Linked DNA regions of Homo sapiens: region 1 is linked to region 2. Evidence: promoter capture Hi-C in human tissues and cell types (Jung and others, 2019). All regions are on one chromosome and are shown on one strand. Each heading gives the region's core, a stretch centred on a gene start or on the middle of the fragment in contact. The rest is flanking DNA. Distances are from core to core; before and after follow the strand shown.

The links. Contacts are between HindIII fragments. The study calls those that stand out against the background at their distance.
Region 1: a fragment that was not itself captured here is called in contact with the fragment with the promoter of FAR1 in region 2 in 1 of the 25 tissues and cell types used here (heart left ventricle).

The regions. Positions count from the first base shown.
Region 1 is chr11:14,532,366-14,538,642 of GRCh38, reverse strand. It overlaps a transcript of PSMA1 not described here. Among named protein-coding and RNA genes, the nearest start is that of PSMA1, 15 kb to the right of the region's middle. The HindIII fragment of the contact is 5,789 bases long and covers 53-5,841 here.
Region 2 is chr11:13,664,469-13,670,666 of GRCh38, reverse strand. FAR1 (fatty acyl-CoA reductase 1) reads right to left here and starts at 1,999. Exons shown (of 12, transcript NM_032228.6): 1 at 1,861-1,999. RefSeq lists an enhancer at 1,440-1,489 and silencers at 1,570-1,849, 1,960-2,449. The HindIII fragment of the contact is 12,577 bases long and covers 1-6,198 here.

The DNA.
Region 1 (6,277 bases), core at 1,698-4,197, 870 kb before region 2:
TGATGTGAATAAATATTTTATAAACTAAACTTCAAGTATAAAACTTGATTTACCCTTTCAACCAAATTCACATGGGAAGTCCCACTTCTTCTTAAAAATCTTGGACATTCAAGAGTTAAGGGATATGGAAGCTGGCGTAGCATGGGGCTGTCATCCAAGACCAGCTGAAAAGGCAGCAGGAAGGGTTTGGTTCTGGCTAGGCTACAGACAGGCCATCTGGATGCAGGGAAGGCCTAGAATGCCAGAAGCAGCTTTTCTTTTTGATTTTAGACTTCATCGAGTCCAGCCTGGGAAAAGTCTTTAGTTTAAGACCCAAACCGAGAGTCTTCTTTAAACAGGGATTCAATATTTGAATTTTATATAAAACAAACATCCACTACACGTATTCTTTTTGGCAAAGAAGGTTGGAGACAGCAATGTACACACAATTAAACATACTTAGAAAAAAATGTAGACCAGATTCACTAGACTTATAAATACATAGGAACTATGTGTAGTTTTTAAGTAATTTTGCTAGGAATAAATATTGAAAGATTGCCTGAAAAAAAATTTTTTTATATTATACCCCCTCAGTTACTTTTATGAATAATTATTTCGTTGTTTTTCCCATAGTTCACATTAAAAAGCAATTTTAGGCCAGGCGCGGTGGCTCACACTTGTAATCCCAGCACTTTGGGAGTCCGAGGCAGGCGGATCACTTGAGGCCAGGAGTTCGAGACCAGCCTGGCCAACATGGCAAAACCCCATCTCTACTAAAAATACAAAAGTTAGCCAGGTGTGGCAGTGCACATCTGTAATTTCAGCTACTGGGGAGGCTGAGGCATGAGAATCACTTGAACCTGGGAGATGGAAGTTGCAGGGAGCTGAGATCATGGCACTGCACTCCAGCCTGGGTGACAAAGTGATACTCTGTCTAAAAAAAAAAAAAAAAGGGTAATTTTACCACATTAAAATTGCCTTTAGGTCTTTAAAATAATTTTCCTTCTCTATTTTTATTTTATATTTAATAATGTTATATTTATAATTAATCACATTAGGCATGATGTTAGCATGGGCCAGGAAATTTTTCTTTAGTGAAACTGAAAAAAAAAAAAAACCCTGCAGGGAAGTTATAGCAACTTCCTACTCTGTATCATTCATGAACATACACTCAGTTTGGAAACCACCCTCTTTAAAAGATATGATCTATTCTTCCTTAGTTATTGCAGTATGCGTTTGATTTGTATGTGTTATTCTTAACAATTAAAGGAAAAGGTGAATGTAAATTCACTTGGACAAAACAGGAATAAAAGAATATTATCCTTAAGGGAAGTCTTACCTTAAAGAAGAGAAAATGCACGTATTTTTCTGGGCGAGGGTGGTGGGGTCAGGGAGGAAGAATTGTTTTTTCTAAATAAGGCATTAATCGCCACCTAGCAGTAGAGGAAGGAACTGCGCACTTAGTTTGCCACTGAAATTCTAGAAAACATTAGTTTTAAAGGACATATTACTTTTATTGTAAACAATATCTTAGGAATTATTGGTCTATTGGCAGACTAAGGATTGAATTTTTTCTCTCTTGTCTTGAGGAAAGATAAAGAAATAAAACAAATGAAAATATTTGGCCTATTTGTAAGCATACTCCTTCCATCATAAAATGTCTGTTCTCTTGTTGCCGTTGCCACTCCAGCAACAAGCTAAAGGAAAAGAAATTCTGAAGCCATCATGACACGAAAAAATGTTGCCTTTGGCAGGGCGCGGTGGCTCACGCCTGTAATCCCAGCACTTCGGGAGGCCGAGGCGGGCGGATCACGAGGTCAGGAGATTGAGACCATCCTGGCTAACACAGTGAAACCCCATCTCTACTAAAAATAGAAAAACAAAATTAGCCTGGCGTGGTGGCGGGCGCCTGTAGTCCCAGCTACTCGGGAGGCTGAGGCAGGAGAATGGCATGAACTCAGGAGGCGGAGCTTGCGATAAGCCGAGATCGTGCCACTGCACTCCAGCCTGGGCGACAGAGCGAGACTCCGTCTCAAAAATAAAAATAAAAAAAAATTTTTTTAAATGCTGCCTTTGTCCTATTAGAGGAAGAAATATCTGAGTTTTTTTGTTTGTTTTTCTGTTTGTTTGTTTTTTGGAGTCGGAGTCTCGCTCTTTCGCCCAGGCTGGAGTGCAGTGGCAAGATCTCTGCTCACTGCAACCTCCACCTCCCGGGTTCAAGCGATTCTCTTGCCTCAGCCTCCTGAGTAGTTGGGATTACAGGCGCTCACCACCAAGCCCGGCTAATGTTTGTATTTTTAGTAAAGACGGGGTTTCGCCATGTTGGTCAGGCTGGTTTCGAATTCTTGACCGCAGGTGATCCGCCCCCCTCGGCCTCCCAAAGTGCTGGGATTACAGGCGTGAGCCACCTCGCGCGGCCTAAGAGAGGTTTATTTTGAAAATGAGAAGACATTGGCCGGGATTAGTAATAACAGTTATTATTGTTAGTAATAATGCTTAGTATATAGTAAGGTGATCAACAAATATTTTTTGAAGGAATGAGAAATGTCTGGCTCCAAAACCTGTGCTTTTCACTATTACCTTCTATGCATATATATTGGTGGCTGAAAGTGCTTGGCTGGACACTTCAGAGTGGCTCTTATATAAAAGCCCTACTTGTGGACCAACAAAAGAGATATTTGGTTTCTTGGGGTTTTAATGGCTTTCAACTCCTCGAAGCATGATTTGGGGATTTGGATCAGGATACACCCTGATTCTTAACCAGTATTTGCAAAATTGATCAATAGAGGTATCTTGCAGGAAGAATGGAACAGAAAAACAACACTAATTCTCCAATTTAAAGACCATTATTAGTTATTTCAGGATTTTTTAGAATAAAAAAAATCCAAATAAAAGCCAAACTGAAATTTTCCCATGAATGGCCGGGTGGGGTGGCTCATGCCTGTAATCCCAGCACTTTGGGAGGCCGAGGTGGGCGCATCACCTGAGATCGGGAGTTCGAGACCAGCCTGACCAAAATGGAGAAACCCCCGTCTCTACTAAAAATACAAAAATTAGCCGGGTGTGGTGGCGCATGCTTGTAATCCCAGCTACTCGGGAAGCTGAGGCAGGAGAACCTCTTGAACCCTGGAGGCGGAGGTTGCAGTGAGCCGAGATCGTGCCATTGCACTCTAGCCTAGGCAACAAGAGCAAAACTCCGTCTCAAAAAAAAAAAAAAAAGAAAGAAAGAAAAAGAAATTTTCCCATGAACATGTAAGATTCATTGTTACTCAACTATCTAGATGACAGTCTGTAATAATTGCTTAATTTCTGGAAAAAAATATTTCTAAACAACTCAAGTGTGCCATGGCTTTTGTACAGGCCTCTCTTTTAGTCACACACTGAGGGAGGAAAATTATATTATACAGTTTAGATATAACTCTAAATTGTTATTCTTCCCAATTATGTCTATTAATTCCAGATTGCTCTATTCCAAGTGTTAGCTGTTGCCAGAAAAAAAAAAAACCTTAGCTTCTGAATAACCAGTTAAAAATAAAAAGCTTCTAAAATACCAGGGGTTTTTTTGTTTGTTTTTTGTTTTTGTTTTTCCTGAGATGGAGTCTCGTTCTGTCGCCCAAGCTGGATTGCAGTGGTGCAATCTCGGCCCACTGCAACCTCTGCCTCCTGGGTTCAAGCAATTCTCCTGCCTCAGCCTCCCGAGTAGCTGGGATTACAGGCGTCTGCCACCATGCCCGCTAATTTTGTATTTTTAGTAGAGACGGGGTTTTGCCATGTTGGCCAGGCTGGTCTTGAATTCCTGATCTCAGGAGATCTGCCTGCCTCCCAAAGTGCTGGGATTACAGGCGTGAGCCACCGCACCTGGCCTCCTATAAGCAGGTTTGTTTGTTTTTTTAATTTTTTTAAATATGCATATGTACACACGATGTATATACATGTTACACATATTGGAAAATATATTCTCAGGATATTCTCCCTTCTCCAGATGGATAGTATTGAAAGGGAAAAAACACAGTAATTAAAAAAAAAATGGTCAGCACAGTGGCTCACTCCTGTAGACCCAGCTACTCTAGAGGCTGAGGCAGGAGAGTTGCTTGAGCCCAGGAGTGAACTTTGATCACACCACTGCACTCCAGCCTGGGCAACAGAGCAAAAGCCTGTCCTAAAAATAAACAAATAAATTAAAATTAAAATTTTAAAAAGGTGGGAGTGGGTGCAGATAAGGCTAGTTTAAAGCAAGCTGTTTAAAGGCTATCAAATATTAGTCAAATAAATTATGAAACATTTATATGATGTAATACCTTATAGCTATACAGACATTTAAAGCATGTGACATGAAGAAATGTTCGTGGTTTAATGTTTACATAGAAAAGCAGGTTTAAAAAGAATCATATATAATTTGATACAAATTTTTTGTGGCAGTTTATTTTGAGATATTAATTTTTATTTTATTTTATTTATGTATGTATGTATGTATGTATTTTTGAGGCAGAGTTTTGCTCTTGTTGCCCAGTCTGGAGTGCAGTGGCACAATTTCGGCTCACTGCAACCTCCACCTCCTGGGTTCAAGTGATTCTCCTGCCTCAGCTTCCCAAGTAGCTGGGGTTACAGACATGCACCTCCATGCCCGGCTAATTTTGTATTTTTAGTAGAGATGGGGATTTCACTATTTTGGTCAGGCTGGTCTCAAACTCCTGACCTCAGGTGATCCACCCTCCTCAGCCTCCCAAAGTGCTGGGATTACAGGCATGAGCCACTGCGCCCAGCCTTGAGATATTAATTTTATGTGTTCTCCTATCCTACTACCCCTTTCTCCCATTCAAGCAAGTATCTAGACTTCAGATTTTTGTAAGGCAAAAAGCAAACACTGCTCAGAAATACCATAGGCTCTGTCTTGTGAAATGAGAAGAGGGAGGTGAAAGAGGGATTCCTCAAAAGTTAGAAGTCTGGGCCAAGCTCAGTGGCTCATGCCTGTAATCCCAGCACTTTGGGAGGCTGAGCTGGGTAGATGGCTCGAGCCCAGGAGTTCAAGACCTGCCTGGGCAACATAGTGAGACCCCGTTTCTATTAAAAAAAAAAAAGAAAAGAAAAGAAAAAAGAAAAAAACTTAGAAGTCTGAAGCCTATAGTTTGAGTGAATAGCTAAGATTCCCATCTTGTTCTGTAACAAAGCCCAGATAGTGGCAAAACCTCAAAGAGGAAAGCCACATGGGGTACCTTAGGAAGCTGTACTTGGGTGCAGGGGCTGCCACATTCACTTACTTGATTCCAGATTCTTGAGTACCAACAGTGGTAAAGAAATATGAGAGTCACCAGTCTGAAGTGAAGATGGCACAAAAGGGAATCCCAGCACCAAATCAATGTGGAGAGATGACCAAGTAATTTGAGATAATTCCAGGTACTTCTATAATAATTCAAGCCCTAGAAACTTTGTACAACCCTGGATGGAGAGGAAATGCTCAATGATAACTAAGGTAGAATTTCTCACCAGCATGGCAGGATGGGAGCTCAGGCTTAGATTCAAGTGGACCTAAAGAAATGCAGTATTTATTTCTATGAAATAAGAATCATATACACAATATGCATATGTACACACGATGTATATACATGTTACACATATTGGAAAATATATTCTCAGGATATTCTCCCTTCTCTAGATGGATAGTATTGAAGGGGAAAAAACACAGTAAGTTTCACTACCTAGTACAATATAGTAATTTATCATATTGTCTTTTTTTAGCAGCTATTTTTAGATTTTTTTTAAATTTTTTTTTTTGAGACAGAGTCTTGCTCTGTCACCCAGGCTGGAGTACAGTGGCAGATGTCGGCTCACCTGCAACCTCCACCTCCTTGGTTCAAGCAATTCTTATGCCTCAGCCTCCCAAGAAGCTGGGGTTTCGCCATGTTGGTCAAGGTGGTCTCCAACTCCTGACCTCAAGTGGTCTGCCCGCCTTGGCCTCCCAGAGTGCTGGGATTACAGGCATGAGCCACCTAGCCTGGCCAATCATATTGTCTTTATTGAAAAAAAATCTTCAATGTATATCCCCCTTTTTTTTTTTTTTTGAGACGGAGTCTCGCTCTGTCACCCAGGCTGGAGTGCAGTGGCACAATCTCGGCTCACTGCAACCTCTGCCTCCCAGGTTCAAGCAATTCTTCTGCCTCAGCCTCCCGAGTAGCTGGGACTACAGGCATGTGCCACTACGCCGGGCTAAGTTTTGTATTTTTAGTAGAGGTGGGGTTTCACCATTTTGGCCAGGCTGATCTCGAACTCCTGATCTCAGGAGATCTGCCCGCCTTGGCCT
Region 2 (6,198 bases), core at 750-3,249:
CCAACAAGCCTAATACATAATCAAACTCCAGAAAATTTATGTGGAATTTTTATGGATAAATTTATGGAATAATTTTGGCCGGCGCGGCAGCTAACGCCTGTAATCCCAGCACTTTGGGAGGCCGAGGCGGATGGATCTCTTGAAGTCAGGGGTTCGAGACCAGCCTGGCCAATATGGTGAAACCCCGCCTCTACTAAAAATACAAAAATTAGCCGGTGCGGTGGGGCATGTCTCTGTAGTCCCAACTACTCGAGAGGCTGAGGCAAGAGCTGATCACTTGAACCTGGGAGGTGGAGGTTGCAGCGAGCCAAGATCGCGTCACTGCACTCCAGCCTGGGCAACAAAGCGAGACACACACACACAAATTTATAAAATAAAAACAAAACAAAACAAAAATTATAAAATAATTTTATGGAAAATGTATGGAATAACAGGGCCTGGGTGGGGTGGCTCACCCCTGTAATCCCAAGCCTTTGAGAGGCCACGGTGGAAAGATCTCTTGGGCCGAGGAGTTTGAGGCTGGAACGAGCTATGATCTCGCCACTGCACTCCAGCCTGGGCGACAGCAAACCCTGTCTCTGTTTACTTTTTAAATTAATTTGAAAAAAATACATCAGGATTGTACTTATACGTTAATTCTCACTTGTATTACTGTAAGAGATCTTGCATCATTTTTATGCTATATTACACATGCCCAACATGACAGCTGAGAAACTCCCCTGGAGGGCAGATTTTCTGAGAGTATCTTCTGATGTTGTCTTTAAACCAACACTTTTTTTTTTAACATAAAGAATTAAGGGATTCCTGACTGCCATCTAGTCAAAAGCAAACAATATGTATGCCATTACTTCGGAGGGAGTGAGTTCTTGTGCTGCTGAGGCAAAACGAGATGAACTGTCACAGGGATGGCAGGAGGGGTGGAGTGTAGGAGGAGGATCAGCCCCAGTAGTGAGAATTAAAAACTCTTTTGAGTATTTGGCCCTCCACTAGCAGTAAATTAACCTTCAAACCTGACCAAGACACTACCTGAGACCCTCCACTCTCCGACACCGCAGAATCAGACAACTGTTCTTGCTCAACTACTCATAAAAGATTCACAGCCTTCACCTACCACACATAAATCTACCGCGTTTGCTGCTTGTATACTTTGTCCTAACAGACCAACTAATGCCTTCTAGTCCAATAGCCTCCCGTCCACACCTCACATAAAACCTTCTCAGCCACCTTCCGGTTTCAGTAGGTGCCTCTTACTCCAGATCCACGTGTCCCCAGTTCTCCAGAGACCTTCACCTTCAAAACCCAAGCCCGTCCCCCCTTCACTCCCAGCTGATCTCCACCCAGGCCCTATCAATCCTTACTTCTAATAGGCCAACCACACTCCCCGGCCCCGCGCCTTCTCCCTCAGCACCCTTTTCTGAGCATCACCTATTTCCCACCACTTTCTTCCTCCCCAGACCCGGAATCCTGCAATCACTAGGCCTCCCTTTGCCGCTACCCTCCCGCGAGCACGCGGAGCCCGCTGCTCGGCTAACCACCCCGCCCCACCTTCGCCACCTCTAGCGGCCTCCCACCCCAGGCGGCTCCCCGGGCTCCGCGGCTGCAAACCAGGCCCCACCGTACGTCCCCCACGCGGTCCCGGCCCTGTGAAGGGCGGCGGCGGGGCAAAGAGGGGCAGAGACCACCCGGGGTGAGGCGGGCGCCCTCACTTCTGGGCGTACCCGGGCGGGGGCGGGGGCGGGACGGCTGGTCGGCGCCCCCGCCTCGGCCAGGCCTGCAGCCCGAGCTCCCGCAACCACTTCCCGAGCCAGGCGAGGAGGAGCCCGCAGCCCGGCCGCTCCCGCTGGCGCACCCCCTTCTCACCTAGACGCAGAGGCTCAGGCCTCGCTCTCCCACTGGCCGTCCAGCAATAGCTGCGCCGCCGCCGCCGCCGCCGTCGCGCTCTCTTCACTCGCTTTTCCACCGCCCGCGACCGGCTGCTGAAGAGCGGACGGGCAGTGGCACGCCCATTGGCTGAGGCCCGCAGTCGCGTCAGCCGGCCCCGACCGCACCTCGCGACGTGACTGGCTGGAGCGGCGCCTCTTTTCGACATCCGCTTTTGATTGGCTCTCGCGCACACCCTTATCCGCAGGACCAGTCATCCTCCTCCCTGCTTTAGCCTCTCACCCCCAACCCGGTTTCCCTCCGGGCGGGAGTGGGGCGGGAGCGGACGCCCGCGGAACGCGAACGGCCAATGGGGGCGCGGAGAGAGGGCCGGGAGGTGGGCCCTGCGGCCGGGAGGCTCGCGGGGGAATGCTCAGCCAATGGGCCCGCGCCCCACATCTCGAGTCCTGGAGCGCCCCCGCCGGCTGCTGGCGTCCTGTCGGGTCGCGCCCAGGGCCACGCCCGGCTGTCCGTCGCGCGGGAGGGGCGCCAACTCCCAAGGTTGGGAGCACGCAGCGAGGCCCGCGCGGGAGACAGCGGGGCTGCCATTGTGGCGTGCTTAGCGCTATTATGGTGGGGCCCGGGGGCCCTCCGGCCATTGCTGGGCGTGAGGGATCCGTTCGGAGAACTACCAGCTTGGCGGGTGTGGCCCGGGTCGGTGAGAGCGAAGAGCTCTACGGACCCCTGGAGCCTCCACGGGTCTCGCCCAGTCCCAGGGGACTGTGGGCCCATTCATTCCACCTTCCACTTCCTCCAAAATAATTCCCTACAAAACTTACCGGTAGTGATAGGAGTTAGAATAACGTTTACTTCTGAGGGGTGGGGCACGAGGGAACCTATGGAAAGCTGGAAACATTGCGTCTTGATCCTGGTGGTCGTTCCGGGCTGTGTACACATGGAGGAATTCATCGAGCCGGACACTTAATAGTATTACCACATTCATACGGCTCATTTTTAAAAAATAATAAAAGGATCATGAGAATTCTGTAATAATATTACCACAATCTTTGGGCTCCGTGGGACTCCATTGTATAAACAGTCCGCATTAGGATTTAGCTGTCATTCAAAACATGCAAGCCATAGGAAGAAAAAAAAAGATTTGTGAGAAGCAAAAATGAGTGAACGCTCTTGGCACGGTGAATAGCATGCACAGGTTGGTATTTAGGGATGGATGGCTCAGAGTGATTTTTCTGTGGGGATTTAGAGCTTGTTTCAGTGCCTGGCCCTGTTAGTAGCTAAAAGCAGTCATAGTGCTGCATCCAGTTGGAAACTACAAAAGCTCACTGAACTGCCTACTTTGTGGCAGATGTTAAGTTCTGGCTCAGGAAACTAATTTGAATGCCATGGCTTCTGCCTCGATGAGCTCACAGTCTTGCAGCAAGTACTGTCATTTCTGGAGGAGGGCACAGAACACAAAGCTAACACACTTGCTTACCCTCAGGGATGTCGCATTCCGCTACTTTAGGCAAGACAGTGTATGCCTGGAACCCATCCAGTCCAATAGCCATAGTCATAAATAGCCAGGATCAGGTGAAACACTTCTTAGAAGTGGGTCAAAATATTCTCCCAAAACAAACGTAAGAACTATGGACCAAATTCTAATCTGTAAAAGAACACAAGCAACAAAACAAAGATTACAGTATTCATATTTATTAATTTAGTCATTAAGTTGTTTAAATCAGGTAAATGCCTTTATTTAAAGTGCTTGTCACTACACTAGGCATATAAACTTGGATATGACAGTATTCCACAGAACATAGGGTTTAATGGAGAGACAGACATAAACAATGCCAGTGTAATACAGGATGAGGGAATACCTAGAAAGAGGATGTAACCCAGCATGGGGGATTCAGGAGCATGTTAGAACATGTGTAGCTAAGTTAACCACTGCTAAGGTTTATCAGTATACTGATAGGGTAATATCACTATAGGAAATAGACACTATTTCCAGAAAATACTTCATAAACTTTTTGTTGTTTGTGCATATGTCTTAATTTTAAAAATTGATATAAGTACAAAAGCAAAGTAATGCTTAGTTCTGAGGAAAATATGATGTAATTATTAAGTAATCACTTAATAAATGATTCTCAAAAATAGCCGTACACTTGAGAGCACAAAGGGATCTCATTTGATTCAAGTCAATGTGTATGAAATGTGTGCCTCCGGCAGACCCCCACAAATGGACAGAGTGCTTTCTGGAGGAAGACTTTAAAAAACAATGGATCACTCTCCAAGATGGTACAATTTCATGGGTAAGGCATGTTGTATGACTCGAATCTTCCATAATATACTATCATTCTTAAATGAATTCAGAGAATTAATAAATCTACAAAAAGTGAGTAATAAAAGGCAGTGAAAGATTTTGCACCAGAGTTTAAACTAGAAAAATGTAATGACATCAATCATTCATTCATCTGCCTTTCCCATCTTTATTCAGCAAGATCCCTGAAAATTGGGCGCCATATATTGGTATCAACTGCATTATAATTTTATTCAAACATGAAACAACTCTACATCTTTTTGATCCATGCTATAGAAACAATATCTTTTAAATGAAGGTAAATTACACCAAGCCAAAAATGTACCATTATAGTTTCTAGCCTAAAGGGAGATACTATATATCATTGAGAAAATATATAGGAATAAAGACCAAAACGAATATGCTACCCTTAACGTGGTTGGCATATTGGCCATAACGTGGCTATTATGACTCTCAGAATTTCATAACATTTTTAGAAACAAAAAACAAGTTCAAGCATTTTTATGCAAATACTGCTCTGAGGAAACAGTTTTCTTCTGGCATGTGTCATTTTCTAACACTTTTTTTGTGGAAATGTCTTATTCAGTATAGTTCTGATGAAGTCTTCACTTTATCCTCACAGCAGCCCTATGCAAGTATTCATCTATTCATCTAAATTCTGTAGAAGACAAACTTGAGGCTCAGTGAGGCAAGTAACTTGTCTAAAGACACATAGCTGTTAGGTGGCAGAAGTAGGATTAAAATCTAGATAGATTTGATGGCAAGCCCCATTATCTTTCTACTTATGCTTCATTTGCCTCTTCCAAAACCAGACCAAGTCATTATGTCTTGTCATTATACATCTTTGTATCCCTCACAATAAGTAGTACAGAGTCTTTTTTTTGAGAAGGAGTCTCGTACTGTCGCCCAAGCTGGAGTGCAGTGGTGCAATCTCGGCTCCCTGCAAGCTCTGCCTCTCCGGTTCACGCCATTCTCCTGCCTCAGCCTCCCGAGTAGCTGGGACTACAGGTGCGCACCACCACACCCAGCTAATTTTTTTTTGTACTTTTAGTGAAGATGGGGTTTCACCATGTTGGCCAGGGTGGTCTCAATCTCTTGACCCTCTGATCTGCCCGCCTTGGCCTCCCAAAGTGCTGGGATTACAGGTGTGAGCCACCGTGCCCAGCCTTCAGCCTTTTTTTTTTTTTTTGAGACGGAGTCTTGTTCTGTCCCTCAGGCTGGAGTGCAGTGATGCAATCTCGGCTCACTGTAACCTCTGCCTTCCTGGGTTCAAGTGATTCTCCTGCCTCAGCCTCCCGAGTAGCTAGAATTAGAGGCACCTGCCACCATGCCTGGCTAATTTTTGTATTTTTAGTAGAGACAGGGTGTCACCATGTTGGCCAAGCTGGTCTCGAACTTCTGACCTCATGATCCACCCGCCTTGGCCTCCCAAAGTGCTGGGATTACAGGCGTGAGCCAGCACGCCTGGCCCAGCATCTTATATACACACCCATCATGGAATTCACCAAATTAATCCTTCTTTTCACCATGCTTTACTTTACAGATTGCATGACAATAGAAAGTATAAACTATTTAAAAGTAACTGTAGCACATTAAAAATATTTGTTTTGATAAAACTAATGAGAATACAACTTTCTTTGTAGTTGCTGTGGAAAACCCATCATAACTGTCTAGAATGCACCAGAGATGTTCACTCTCAGCATAGAAAGAGTTACAGGCAACTTTTCCCAAGTGAACTAAATTTTAATGAGAGCAGTATTCTCTGTAGTTCATTTTATGGTATCTGCCTTGCCCTGCACCCAATCATGACTTCCAGAATAGGTCTGCTTTAAAAATATTTTTAAAGCCTGTTAGTAAAAACAAAAACAAAAAAATCCTATTAAGGTTTTAACATTTCCACCAGTACATTGATTGCCTGTCTAGGCAAGTACACACAGGTTCCTGTGGCTTCATTTCCCCAGTATCTGTTCTGGGTGTTTCAGAGGTCTGTGAAATAAGTTTGGTTTTCATCTGGAGGG